2 separate regions of the Homo sapiens genome follow, and region 2 is linked to region 1. Evidence: promoter capture Hi-C in 16 types of primary human blood cells and fetal thymus (Javierre and others, 2016). All regions are on one chromosome and are shown on one strand. Each heading gives the region's core, a stretch centred on a gene start or on the middle of the fragment in contact. The rest is flanking DNA. Distances are from core to core; before and after follow the strand shown.

Region 1 (6,935 bases), core at 2,502-5,001:
ATAAAAGTAGAAATTGATTACTGTATTCTTAAAACTTTACATTTGGAGTTCAGTCCTCTGAATCACTTTCTATTTTTTTTTGAGATGGAGTCTCACTCTGTAGCCCAAGCTGGAGTGCAGTGGTGCAATCTTGGCTCACTGCAACCTCTGCCTCCTGGGCTCAAGCGATTCTCGTGCCTCAGTCTCACGAATAGCTGGGACTACAGGTGCACACTGCCACACCCGGCTAATTTTTTGTATTTTAGTAGAGATGGGGTTTCATCATGTTGCCCAGGGTGGTCTTGAACTCCTGAGCTCAGGAAATCTGCCTGCCTTGGCCTCCCCAAAGTGCTGGAATTACAGGTGTGAGACACTGCACCCAGCCTGAATCACTTTTTAAAAATACACTTAAAAATGTTTTAATTGTGGTAAAAACTACAGAACACAAAATTAACCATCTTGACCATTTTTAAGTATACAGTTCAGTAGTGTTAAATATATTCACATTGTTGTACAACAGATTCACAAAGTTGTACAAAGACGAACTTTTTCATCTTGCAAAACTGGAACTTTATACCCATCAGACGACTCCCTACTTCCCCTCCCCCTAGCCCCTGGCAAACACAATTTTTACTGTTTCCATGAATTTGGCTACTTTAGATACTGCATAGAAGAGGTGTCATACAGTATTTATCTTATTGTGACTGGCTTATTTCACTTGGCCTAATGTCCTCAAGATTCATTCATGTTGTAACAGGCAACAGAATTTCCTTTCTTTTTTTAATGAAATAAGACTGTGGAGAAAGAAAAATGCATCTCCCTTTGACAAACAACATTGAAAATATGATTCACTCTGAAACATTACATCAAAAAATGAAAGACTGGCTAGGTGCGGTGGCTCACGCCTGTAATCTCAGCACTATGGGAGGCCGAGGTGGGCGCACCACCTGAGGTCAGGAGTTTGAGACCAGCCTAGTCAACATGGTGAAACCCCGTCTCTACTAAACATACAAAAATTAGCCACGTGTGGTGGCGGATGCTTGTAATCCCAGCTATTTGGGAGGTTGAGGCAGGAGAATCACTTGAACCCAGGAGGCAGAGGTTGCAGTGAGCCAAGATTGCGGCACTGAATTTCAGCCTGGGCAACAGTGAGACTCCATCTCCAAAAAAAAAAAAAAAAAAGAATAAAGAAAGAAAGACCTTTAAAGACATTCCTCAAAAATTTTAAATTATATTAAACCCAAACCTAAGGATTGACAAGAAAGGAAAGGTATTCCTTACTTTTGCAAAAGTAATAAATAAAAAGAGCTTACATGCAAGAGAAATGACGTGTCAAATATGTATTATTACTCTTGAGGCTTCATGGCAAAACCTTAACTATTAAGAATATAGTAAATATGGAAAGTATCTGCTCAATTAATATTGATGAGTTGAATTGAAATATCAGCCATTTCTTATTCCTAAGGGCTCTTAAGTGAATGCTTTTGACCCTGGTAGAAGGGACAAACCCCCAGTTTTTAGCTGCTGTATTGTGGTGGTTGTGCTGTGATCTGCAAATTTTCCCAAATTCCTTTTCCAGGGATTTCCTTTATAAAGTCCAGTTCAGGGATAAGGAGGAAGCGGAAGGTTTACTGAAGCTAAGATTTTAAAGATGGACTTGGTTTGGGAAGCCTGAGGGCTTATTAAAGTTTTTATATAAAGAGGAATTTCCCAGACATATTTTCAAGAAAAAATTATTATTATTTTTAAATATGAGTATGGTAACCTAGCACTTAACTACTATACATGAAGAAATGTGCAAATGCTTCCCCCTTTTCATTCAAAAGCCTTCCTTCCTCTGGCATGGTCCTTTCTTGTTGCCTTATTAGCCTCCTGGTTGCTTTCTATTCTCCTGTTCCTTTCCTCTCCTTCACATCCTCTTCTGTTCCTTGGTTCTTGTGTTTCTTGGCTTCCTGGCTCCCCTGTTCCTTAGTGTACTGATCTTCACAGAGAACTGGCTGGGCCTCAGAAGCTGGGTGTGGTTTCACCTGGGTAAATTACCACATCCTGGAGCACCCTCCAGCACTGTTTTCTTAGGACTTGGGGAGTTGGAGTCAGTGCATTTGGGGGGAGGATAAAAAAGTGAAACCATTTACTGAGCTAGCTCCCCAGAGAATAGCCCTGTCTAAATCTCCAAATGGTGAAATTGGCTGAAAATGACCATGGAGGTGTCCTGGGTGGGGGGCCAGAAGAGTAGCAAATTGAGAAAGGCCTGGGGTGATGGTGGAATCAGGGTGAGGCAGCCAGGGCTGCAGGTCATGTTTAGATTTATGAGTTAGCGCCCCTTTCCTTCTTCTTTTCCACCTAACCCCCTGAGACTCTAGTCAGCTGTGCTGCTGTGCATGGAGTAATTGTTTAGTTCCACTGCTGTCTGTTGCTGGGTAAACCAGGGCTGGGCCCTGCTCTAATATGAAAGGAAGATTTTAAAAGAAAAATGGAATGTCCAATTGTGACTTCCAAAGCAGTGCTCCAAGTGCATGGAACATTCCAGCCCTCACGAGTGGAGGTGGGCTCTGCAAGGTCCATTTTTAGGATTCCCTGTGTAAAATGTTTCTTGGACCATTCTGGAACATAATGTTACAGAAAGAGCTATTTTATTAGAGAGGAGACTATGAAAACTGTAATTTCAAGAATACTTCTGCTGGGCATGATGGTTCACACCTTTAAGCCCAGCACTTTGGGAGGTCGAGGTGGGCGGATCACTTGAGGCCAGAAATTCAAGACGAGCCTGGCCAACATGGTGAAAATCCATCTCTATGTCAAAACAAAACAAAACACTTCTGTGTATCCCTTTAGTTTAAGTCCTTAGCCCTCCCATAAAATATAAGCAAATTTCAGGAGAGATAATAGATTGACCTTTACGAATCCTTTTTAGCTTCAATTCATACCAGACCTCACCCCTAACCTCCACACCCCCTGACCCACATCCCCACCTCCAATGCTAGGCTCTTCCAGCCGTTCCTGCCTGGGAGCTCTTGAGCTTACCCTTTCTTCTGCCTGGGATACTCTTCCCTCTCTTAAAAAGCTAACTCGCAGTCCTTCAAAACCCAGGCAATGTCACTCACTGTTCCAAGTCTGTTCTCCAAGGCATGCTTAGTTTACTGTGGGTTCCCTGACCACCTCCCATCTCTTGGCTCTTGTCCCACTCAATCAATGGCATACAGGTCCATCTTCCCACCAGGTTAAGATCCCATCAAAGACAAGAACTGTCTCTTGTTCGTCATTGAATCTTTTGCATTTAGAACATTAACTGGCCCACAGTAGATTCTTTAAAACTATTTATGGAATGAATGAATTCTTTACTGCCAACATGTTTCAGTGGGGTGGTGGTGCAGGGTTGGGGGTAGAGAAAATATGAATATGCAAAGAGAAAAAGGAGCTTATGTGCAAAGGAAGGAGGTGGGGGTCACCAGAAGGCAGAGGTCGCTGAAGGCAAACTCCTCTGGGGACAGCTTTGCAAATGGCCAGTCCCTTTTAAAGGCATATTAAGTCTTCAGGTAACTAATTGACAGCTGTAATTTAAGATGTGTTGACACACTTGATGTGCTTGCCAAAGTCATGCTTAATGACTTGTATCTCACACAATGAAATAGGGCAAAGTTAAAAACTCAAATTGCTTTGAGTTTGTATTGGCTTCTGGATCCTGGGTTACATCATTCTTATTTTCATGTTAAACATTAACAGCAATAAAAAAACAGAAAAAGAAAGGTGGTGCGGCAGGGAGTGGGGGGCAGTCATGTAGGGGAGGATATTTTGATTGAACACAGGCTTGACAGAATCTTCTTTTCTTCTTAGAAATCCTAGAAAACAGAAAGCAACAGGAAGATGTCTTATTGGGAACTACCCCCATCAACTTCACCATGAGTCAAACAAGGAAGAAAACTTCCTCAGAAGGAGAAACTAAGCCCCAGACTTCAACTGTCAACAAATTTCTCAGGGGCTCCAATGCTGAAAGCAGAAAAGAGGACAATGACCTTAAAACAAGTGATTCCCAACCCAGCGACTGGATACAGAAGACAGCCACCTCAGAGACTGGTAAGCTGCTGGCTGCTGGTGTTTTTGCTGTTGTATTTGTTTTGTTTTTACTTCCACATTTAAAATATTTTTATTTTTAATTTTTGTGGGTACATAGTAGGTGTATATATTTATGGGGTATATGAGATGTTTCAATACAGGCATGCAATGCCTAATAATCATATTGTGGAGAATGGGGTATCCATCCCCTCAAGCATTTATCCTTTGTGTTACAAACAATCCCATTATACCTTTAGTTTTATTTATTTATTTATTTATTTTGAGACAGAGTTTCACTCTTGTCACCCAGGCTGGAGTGCAATGGCGTGATCTCAGCTCATAGTAACCTCTGCCTCCCGGGTTCAAGCGATTCTCCTGCCTCAGCCTCCCGAGTAGCTGGGATTACAGATGCGCACCACCATGCCCAGCTAATTTTTGTGTTTTTAGTAGAGATGGGGTTTCACTGCATTGGCCAGGGTGGTCTCGAATTCCTGACCTCAGGTGATTTTCCTGCCTTGGCCTCCCAAACTGCTGGGATTACAGGTGTAAGCCATCACACCAGGCCTCTTTTAGTTATTTTTAAATGTGCAATAAATTATTGCACATTTAAAAATAACTAAAAGAGCACAACGGGTTGTTTGTAAACAAAGGATAAATATAGTCACCCTGTTGTGCTATCAAACAGTAGATCTTATATATTCTATTTTTTCTGTACCCATTAACCATCCACACCTCCCCCACCAACAACACACACACCCTTCCCAGCCTCTATGTTTCTTTATTTTTTAGAGTTTTCTTCTAAAGTGATCTTATGGGTTAAACTAAAGACTTTAAGACTTTTGAGACTAAAGACTCAACTATGAGTCTCTGTGCTAATCATTTATTATGTTACTTACATGCTTTAAATGATTCATAATTTTACTTTTAAATTGTTAAAAGCAATATAACACTACAGAAAAATGTAGGGAAAATACTGAATTTCCTTTCATTATAACACAAACGATCATTTCTTTAAGATTCTTTTCAGTCTTTTCTTTTCATATGCATGCATTTATGTTCTGTCAGTCAGCAGTCAATAAATCTTTATTGAGTGCTTGCTATGTAGTAACCCCTGCTCTAAGTGTTAGAAATACAGCCATGAAAAGGACCAAATGCAGATATAACTTCAGGTGGTGATAAGTGATATGAAGAAAAATAATGCAGGCTAAGGAGACAAAGAATGATGGGATGGGGTGCTATTTAGATGGGGGTGGAGGAAAGAAGTCTTCGATTTGGAGGCATTTGAGCAGCAATCTGAATAAAATCAGCTTTGCTGAATGAATGAATAAAGCGAGCCACTTAGGTATTTGTGCAAATAGCTTTCCAGGCAAAGAGACTGTACATGCAAAGGCTTTAGATACGACTGAGCCTAGAGTGCTTGAGAGAGAGTCAGGAAGTCAGGGATGCTAAAGCAGGATGGGAGACATGGAGAGGAAGGGGTAGTGGAAGACAAGTCAGAGAGGTCGCTGGGGCCAGATTGGCATCTTTTCCACAGTTGTAATAGCTTACAGATTCCTCCTGAGTTTATGTGGAGCTGTGATCCTACTTCTAGAACATATTATTATATTGCTCAATTCCCACATTGCTACATGATGCTCATATGCATAATTTTCATGGTTGCATAATATTCCATCACATTCATATGTCTTAATTACTCAGTGAGTTCCTTGTTTGTCCTTCGGTGAGTATCTTTGGCTTTCTTTCTTTCCCATTCCCTGTTTCACCATATTTCAGCTATTTTTAAAGTATAAATTTCCAGAACAGGGATTGCAAATTCAAGGGTTATGAAAATAAATATTGTCAAATCTCTCTCTAAAGTTATGTGTTATGTGCAATGTCATCAATATATTATCTATTAGATTAAAAGCATTTTAAAAACATTTTAAGCATATGCAAAAATAGAATAAAGAATCCCCATAGTCACCTACTTTTAGTAATTATCAGTTGGGCATGGTGTTTCATGCCTGTAATCCCAGCACTTTGGCAAGCTGAGGCAGGAGGATCGCTTAAGGCCAGTAGTTTAAGACCAGCCTGGGCAATATAGCAAGACTCTGTCTTGGTCGGGTGCGGTGGCTCATGCCTGTAATCCCAACACTTTGGGAGGCCGAGGCAGGCATATCATGAGGTCAGGAGATCGAGACCATCCTGGCTAATACGGTAAAACCCAGTCTCTATTAAAAATATAAAAAAGTAGCCGGGTGTGGTAGCAGGTGCCTGTAATCCCAGCTACTCGGGAGGCTGAGGCAGGAGAATCGCTTGAATCCGGGAGGTGGAGGTTTCAGTGAGCCAAGATTGCACCACTGCGCCACTGCACTCCAGTCTGGGCGACAGAGCAAGACTCTGTCTCAAAAAAAAAAAAAAAAAAAAAGACTCCATCTCTAGAAAATAGTTTAAAAATTAGCTGGGCATGGTGGTGCATGCCTGTGGTCCTAGCTACTCTGGAGGCTGAGGTGGGAGGATCGCTTGAATTTTAGAGGTTGAAGCTGTGGTAAGCCATGATTGCACCACTGGACTCCAGGCTGAGTGACAGAGCAAGACCCTCAAAAAAAAAAAAACAAACAAACAAACAAAAAAAACCCATGGCCAATTTTCTTTCTGAGACAGAAAAAAAAAAAATCAACCCATGGCCGATTTTGTTTCTTTCTTTCTTTTTGAGACAGAGTTTCGCACCGTCACCCAGTCTGGAGTGCAGCAGTGTGATCTCGGCTCACTGCAACCTCTGCCTCCCAGGTTCAAGTGATTCTCTTGTCTCAGCCTCCCAAGTAGCTGGAACTACAGGTGTCCGCCACCATGCCCAGCTAATTTTTTTGTATTTTTAGTAGAGAAGGAATTTCACCTTGTGGGCCAGGCTGATCTCGAAGTCC
Region 2 (6,935 bases), core at 2,807-5,306, 44 kb after region 1:
TTGTTTCACCAGAACTTTATGGAAAAATAATTTGAATAATTTAACTACATTTATCATTAACTCCTTTTTTAATAGCTAATTGTCTGTGGCAGTTGCTACAGAATGATAATTGCCTCAACTATCAACCCAATATTGCCTCAGTGAAAGTAGCCAAAATGCACAGGGAATGGATTTGAATGTATTCAAAATAACTATTTTCAACTTCACTGGGCAAAAATCTAATGTTTGTACTTCACCCTAAGATTGTGGCATGACAGGTACAAAGGAAAAGCTGATGAAAGGTGTTCTATGAACACAGGGCAAAGGAATGGAGAATTAGGAAGAGACACCCTGTGTCATAGTGAGAACTACCTATGCTGTGCATGGCATTGCATGACTGGGGTTATGTGGTGGCCCACGCCTACTTTATCATCATTAAGAGTGCAGCAGGTCAGACACGGTGGTTTATGCCTATAATCCCGGCACTTTGGGAGGCCGAGGCAGGTGGATCACCTGAGGTCAGGAGTTCGAGACCAGCCTGGCCAACATGGCAAAACCCCGTCTTTACTAAAAATACAAAATTAGCCAGGTGTGGTGGTGGGCGCCTATAATCCCAGCTATTTGGGAGGCTGAGGCAGGAGAATCGCTTGAACCCGGGAGGTGGAGGTTGCAGTGAGCCATTGCACTCCAGCCTGGGCAACAAGAGCGAAACTCTGTCAAAAAAAAAAGTGCAGCAACAGGAACATGAAAAAAAAAAAACAGTTCTTTAAAGGATGAATATATGAAGACACCCTACTATGGCTACTTTGAATGAAGTTATCCTGTTGCTTTGCAAGTATTCCTCACAGCCCTGCAGATCCAGGAAGCTGGTGCAACATGATTTCCCTTTTCCAATCAGGGAGAGAGGTCACACTTCCCCTTACAGGAAATCCTGGGCACCAAAATGTAGGCTCCCAGCATGTCACTTGTATGATACTCTTTAACTTCAAAATAGTCCAGTTTTCAGGGGGCTACTTATAAAAAGTGGAAATTAAATGGAAAGAGTTATGACTCAATTTCTGCAAATGAAACACACCAAATCACACAGTGGAAAGAAGTATGGCAGGACATATCCAACAGCAATCACAATGAAATGTTGAAGAGTTGTTCACGGACAGTGGAAACCTCAAAATGTAAAAATGATTGCTTGTCTGAAGCTGGAAATCTAGTATGGATGATTCTACATCCAGCCTGTGGAGACCTCATATTTTCTCAGTTTCAGCCAATTTAAGAGGCAGTGACAGGTGCTTCTTAGCCTGCTCATTTGGGGAGGCTTACCTGCAGTTTCCTAATGTGTTCTGGCACATAGGTAAGTTTGAATCCCTGGTCTTGCCCAATGTATAATTTCTCTAAAGACGCTAAAGAAAGGACTTCCTCCGGAAAGGAAAGGAACTCATTTCCTGTTAGTCCAAGTATCTTCAGTTTTGAAAGTGAGCCCAATTCTGAAGGTAACTAGAAGTATTCCAAAAAGATAAGTTTCAGGTCAAGATTATTTTTAACAGCAGAGATAAATTGGGCTTCTGGTTTTGAGGCAGACTGCTAAACAAGTGGAGTAACTTAGCCTCTCCTACTAGTGAAAAATTTGTGCACATATCTGCATTACAGTATTTATACTTGTAGATCTAAAGTCTCTGATTTCACTTTTATGCACCACTTTAAACTGGAGCAATTTTTTGTGGCTGGGCGCGGTGGTTTATGCCTTTAATCCCAGCACTTTGGGAGGCCAAGGCCAGTGGATCACCTGAGGTCAGGAGTTCAAGACCAGCCTGGCCAACATGGCGAAACCTTGTCTCTACTAAAAAATATAAAAATTAGCTGGGTGTGGTAGCGGGTGCCTATAATCCCAGCTACTCGGGAGGCTGAGGCAGGGGAATCTCTGGAATGTGGGAGGCAGAGGTTGCAGTGAGCCGAGATTGTGCCACTGCACTCCAGCCTGGGCGACAGAGCGAGAATCTGTCTCAAAAAAAAAAAAATTGGAGCAATTTTTAACCTATGTTCTTGCCATTTATGGACTGTAGTGTGGCAACTGTTTGACACTATAGAAAGAAAAATACTAAAGTTATGTGTAATATTGCAATAATAATATTCATTATAAATTCAGTTATTGGAACTAATAAATTTAGTGATATGACTCTTCATCCTAAAAGGCTTTAATAATTTTGAAACTTCAGTTGAAATCTCAGTTGGAGGCAAACATATATTCACACCATTTCTAATCAGTGTTCAGTGAACTCCATTATGATCCTATCGTGTCATGTTCTGCTTTTCAGTGAATACCCAGGCTTGTGTAACCTGTGTGGGAACTGGGTCGGCATTTCACAGAGTGCCACACTTTCAGGGCTGGAACGCCTTAAGAAGGTTCTCTATTTCAACCTTCTAATACAGTGCTTGCATACTTTTTATAGCGAGCCATCCAGTTTTATCTAAACACCACCTCCTGTGAAGAAAAGCTCATTATCTTCTATGGCTACTTCTAATCATCAGATTTCCTACTTTAGTACAGCCAAAATCAGCTTCACCATTATGTCCGTCTATCGGTTTCTTTCTGGACCATGGGAGACCACATGGGAAAAAAATCTCTTTTTTTTTTTTTTTTTTTTTTTTGAGACGGAGTCTCGCTCTGCCGCCCAGGCTGGAGTGCAGTGGCGCGATCTCGGCTCACTGCAAGCTCCGCTTCCCGGGTTCACGCCATTCTCCTGCCTCAGCCTCCCGAGTAGCTGGGACTACAGGCGCCCACCACCACGCCCGGCTAATTTTTTGTATTTTTAGTAGAGACGGGGTTTCACCATGTCAGCCAGGATGGTCTCGATCTCCTGACCTCGTGGTCCGCCCGCCTAGGCCTCCCAAAGTGCTGAGATTACAGGCATGAGCCACCGCACCCGGCGAAAAAATCTCATTCTTAAAATATGTGACAATCACCCTATTGACTGTGTTACAGAGATGCCTTATTTTCTCGTAGAAAAAAATCCCAGCTATATAGCTCAACAGCTCCTTAACTCATATGTTCCTTTATCTGGCTTAATTCCTAACTGGGAAATCCTTCCCCACAGTTCCCTGCTTGAGCCCATGGGCATTCTTCCCATCCATTCCCTAGTCAGCCACCCTACTTTCATTCTGGCTAGAGCTCAGCTGAGCCACTCCCACCCCCACCTCTCTATGGATGGGTGGAATAGACAGGTAATTGGTGAATGGGTCACTTACAGTTGGAGAAAAAGAAAGTTCACTGAGGACAACCTATCTGTAAAAGTTTCACATACTTGGAATCTTCCATAATGCATTTTTCTCTTTTTTGTGTAGAGTAAGGACTCATTTTCCTAAAAATGCTGTAACAGTTTTCCAGTTTTATTTATTTACCTATTTATTTTAATTAGATGAAGTCAATCTTTGGAGAAACTGATGTTTAAGCTTTCCTCTTTGGCTATTTCAAAATTCTTCATCAAGCACTTAGATGTCTTCAATACAAAATGCCTGCATTCTGTGCAGTCCAAAACAATGAAAAAAGATTTTTCAATCTAACCATTTTATTATAACCTAGAAATTTCATTCTTATTGCTGTTCACTTAACTCATAAAAGCTTAGCTTTTCTTTTTCAAAGCACATTGAATGTTCAAAAATTTTTTTTAGGAGTATTTAAGATCCAGTAGTTAGTTTCATCATAGTCATAGTAAAGTATAATGAGAAGAAATCTAGATGTATAGAAAATCTGTAGAGCATTAGATGAGGACAATTACTGATGACACTGTAACTGACATATAGCCATTTTGGGATCTGGTACATTGTTTTGGTTTTTTCCTTTTTCTTTTTCTTTTTTTTTTTTTGAGGCGGAGTTTCACTCTTCTTGCCTCGGCTGGACGGCAATGGTACAATCTTGGCTCATTGCAACCTCTGCCTCCTGGGTTCAAGCGATTCTCCTGCCTCAACCTCCCGAGTAGCTGGGATTACAGGTGCCCACTACCATGCCCGGCTAATTTTTGTATTTTTAGTAGAGATGGGGTTTCGCCACGTTGGCCAGGCTGGTCTCAAACTCCTGACCTCAGTTGATCCACTCGCCTCATCCTCCCAAAGTGTTGTGATTACAGGCGTGAGTCACCGCACGTGGCCTGCTTTTCTCCTTTAATAGAAGTATACTCTACAAATAAAATCCATCTAGGTACACATTGAAAATCAGATATTTTTTGCATGCACACAGGCAAGTAGAAGCTACTGGTTAGGCTTTAAGAGCTAGTAACCCATGAGTTGAGTCTTTGGGGAGGGAGAGATAATGAGCTGGCTTAAAGGCCATGTTTCATTGAGGAGAGAAATGCATTGGAAGGTGGTATTAGCATAAGAGGAAATTGAGAAGGGAGGACAAATGCACACACACACACAAAACCCATCAGAATAACTGAAGAGGAAAAAGCACTGGTACACAGAGATTGTCATGTTCAATACAATAATATTTAACATGTCTACATTTCAGTGCAGTTTGACTTGTGCTAAAACTTGGTATTGGATGAAGCTTATTTTTGTTAACAAGCAGTCTGTGTGTGATTTGCTCCTTTGATTTCTTAAAATTTCTCTCAGAAAAGGATTAGGTATTATTCATGGCTCAGTATAATGTGTTATCCCTCCCACATGTACTTTATATTTTAAGTCTTTCACTCCAACTGCAGAATGACTGACTTAGTCCACTAAAAGGAATTTCTTACATCAGCAGTGGAATAGTTCAGGGCCGGGCTCTCACGGAACCTCAAAAATCCTCCAAGGTGAGTTGCTACATCAGTGGAGATTAAGTCCTAGAATCTCGACCTAAATCTACAAGTTACCATCAAAATGTTTACTTCCTGAAAGGCAGCTTTAAAACCCCATAGCAATTTGGGGAAAAAAGTTCTAGAAATAAAAAATCAAATAAAAGATTTTTTTAGCAGCCGGGCACAGTGGCTCACGCCTGTAATCCCAGCACTTTGGGAGGCTGAGGTGGGCAGATCATGAGGTCAGGAGTTTGAGACCAGCCTGGCCAATATGGTGAAACCCTGCCTCTACTAAAAATACATAAATTAGCCGGGCGTGGTGGCAGGCACCTATAGTCCCAGCTACTCGGGAGGCTGAGGAAGGAGAATCGCTTGAACCTGGGAGGTGGAGGTTGCAGTGAGCTGAGATGGCGCCATTGTACTCCAGCCTGGGCAACAGAGCGAGAGCTCATCTCAAAAAAAAAAAAAAAAAGATTTTTAAAAATAAATCCGTAAGGCCCAGGACTTTTATAATTTATAGGGAACACATGAGACTGGTGTCCATGGCCAGGTAAAGCAGACCTATTATTTGATTATAGTTGTTGATTTCCAAATTCCCCTTTTTACTCCCTCTACAGTTGTCTTTTGCTCTTAACAGCTATTTTTTTCTTTTTAAATCAAATATTATAGGCCAGCCATGGTGGCTTACACCTGTAATCCCAGCACTTTGTGAGGCCAAAACGGGTGGATCACTTGAAGCCAGGAGTTTGAGACCAGCCTGGCCAACATGGTGAAACCCCGTCTCTATTAAAAATACAAAAATTAGCCGGGTGTGATGGCGCACACCTGTAGTCCCAACTACTTGGGAGGCTGAGGCAGGAGAATCGCTTGAACCCAGGAGGCAGAGGTTGCAGTGAGCCAAGATAGCACCACTGCACTCCAGCCTGGGTGACAGAGTGAGTGAGACTCCATCTCAAAAATAAATAGATAAATAAATAAAATTAAAATTGAAATAAATAGAATATTATAAAATAATAAAGAAACATAAACCCACGCGTGCCCAACTGCCCAAATCTTTTAATAAACAAAATGAAATACTGCAATTAAGTTCAGTCCCCTTATGATCTCTTCCCCATTTGCTTTCTTGGTTTTTAAAGACACATTCCTACATTGCCCAGCATGGTCTTGAACTTCTGGCCTCTAGTGATCCTCCCTCCTTGGCCCCCTAAACTGCTGGGATTAGAGGAGTGAGCCACTGCATCCAGCTGCTTCCCTATTTTGTTGACTTCCTTCTCTCTTCCCAGAGGCAGCCACCTTCATGAATTTAGTTTTCTTCCAGTCAATATTTTATATTTTCATTATATATAAAAATATCCATAAAATATGTGTTGTGTGTATATGTGTGTATGTATATACATATATGTGTGTATATATATAGTTTTGTGTGATTTCAAAATTTATAAATGGTATCATAAGGTTCTGCAGTTTGATGCGGAACCTTAGGTTTTCTTTTCAATAAACATCACAATACTGAGATCTATCCATATTGGCAATACAGTACCAGTTCACTTAAATTACTATATAACTTCGTTTTATGAATATATTGAAGTTTATTTGCCCACTCCCCTACTGACATTTAGATTGTCTCCCATAATTTCATGATTATCAACAATGCTAAATGACCATTTTTGAATATGCCACCCTGCACACACGGGACAGTTTCTGTTGGGACAAGTCTGGTTTTGCAGTTTCCTATGGATGGAACTTTAGGCTTCTAAGGCTGTTGTGTATTAGAAACATCTGCTGTTAACGGAAACTCTGTCAGGAGATTGTCTTTGTTAAGAATATAGACCCTGGGCCGTGCGCGGTGGCTCACGCTTGTAATCCCAGCACTTTGGGAGGCCGAGGCGGGCGGAACACAAGGTCAGGAGTTCGAGACCAGCCTGGACAACACCGTGAAACCCCGTCTCTACTAAAAATACAAAAATTAGCTGGGCATGATGGCAGGTGCCTGTAATCCCAGCTATTCGAAAGGCTGAGGCAGGAGAACCGCTTGAACCCGGGAGGTGGACGTTGCAGTGAGCCGAGATCACACCACTGCACTCCAGCCTGTGCAATAGAGCTAGACTCCGTCTCGGGGAAGAGAAAAAAAAAAAAAAAAGAATGTAGACCCTGGAGCCTGGCAGCTGTGGGCTGGAATCGCGGCTG

What was found. The method cuts DNA at HindIII sites, captures the fragments that hold promoters and counts their contacts. A CHiCAGO score of 5 or more calls a contact.
Region 2: a contact is called between a fragment that was not itself captured here and the fragment with the promoter of LRRC31 in region 1, in 1 of 17 cell types (total B cells). The highest score is 5.3, in total B cells.

The regions. Positions count from the first base shown.
Region 1 is chr3:169,866,751-169,873,685 of GRCh38, reverse strand. LRRC31 (leucine rich repeat containing 31) reads left to right here and starts at 3,751. Exons shown (of 9, transcript NM_024727.4): 1 at 3,751-4,053. The coding sequence starts at 3,879. The HindIII fragment of the contact is 9,706 bases long and covers 1-6,935 here.
Region 2 is chr3:169,823,294-169,830,228 of GRCh38, reverse strand. It overlaps LRRIQ4 (leucine rich repeats and IQ motif containing 4), which reads right to left. Exons shown (of 6, transcript NM_001080460.3): 3 at 1,297-1,470. Among named protein-coding and RNA genes, the nearest start is that of LRRC34, 14 kb to the right of the region's middle. The HindIII fragment of the contact is 924 bases long and covers 3,595-4,518 here.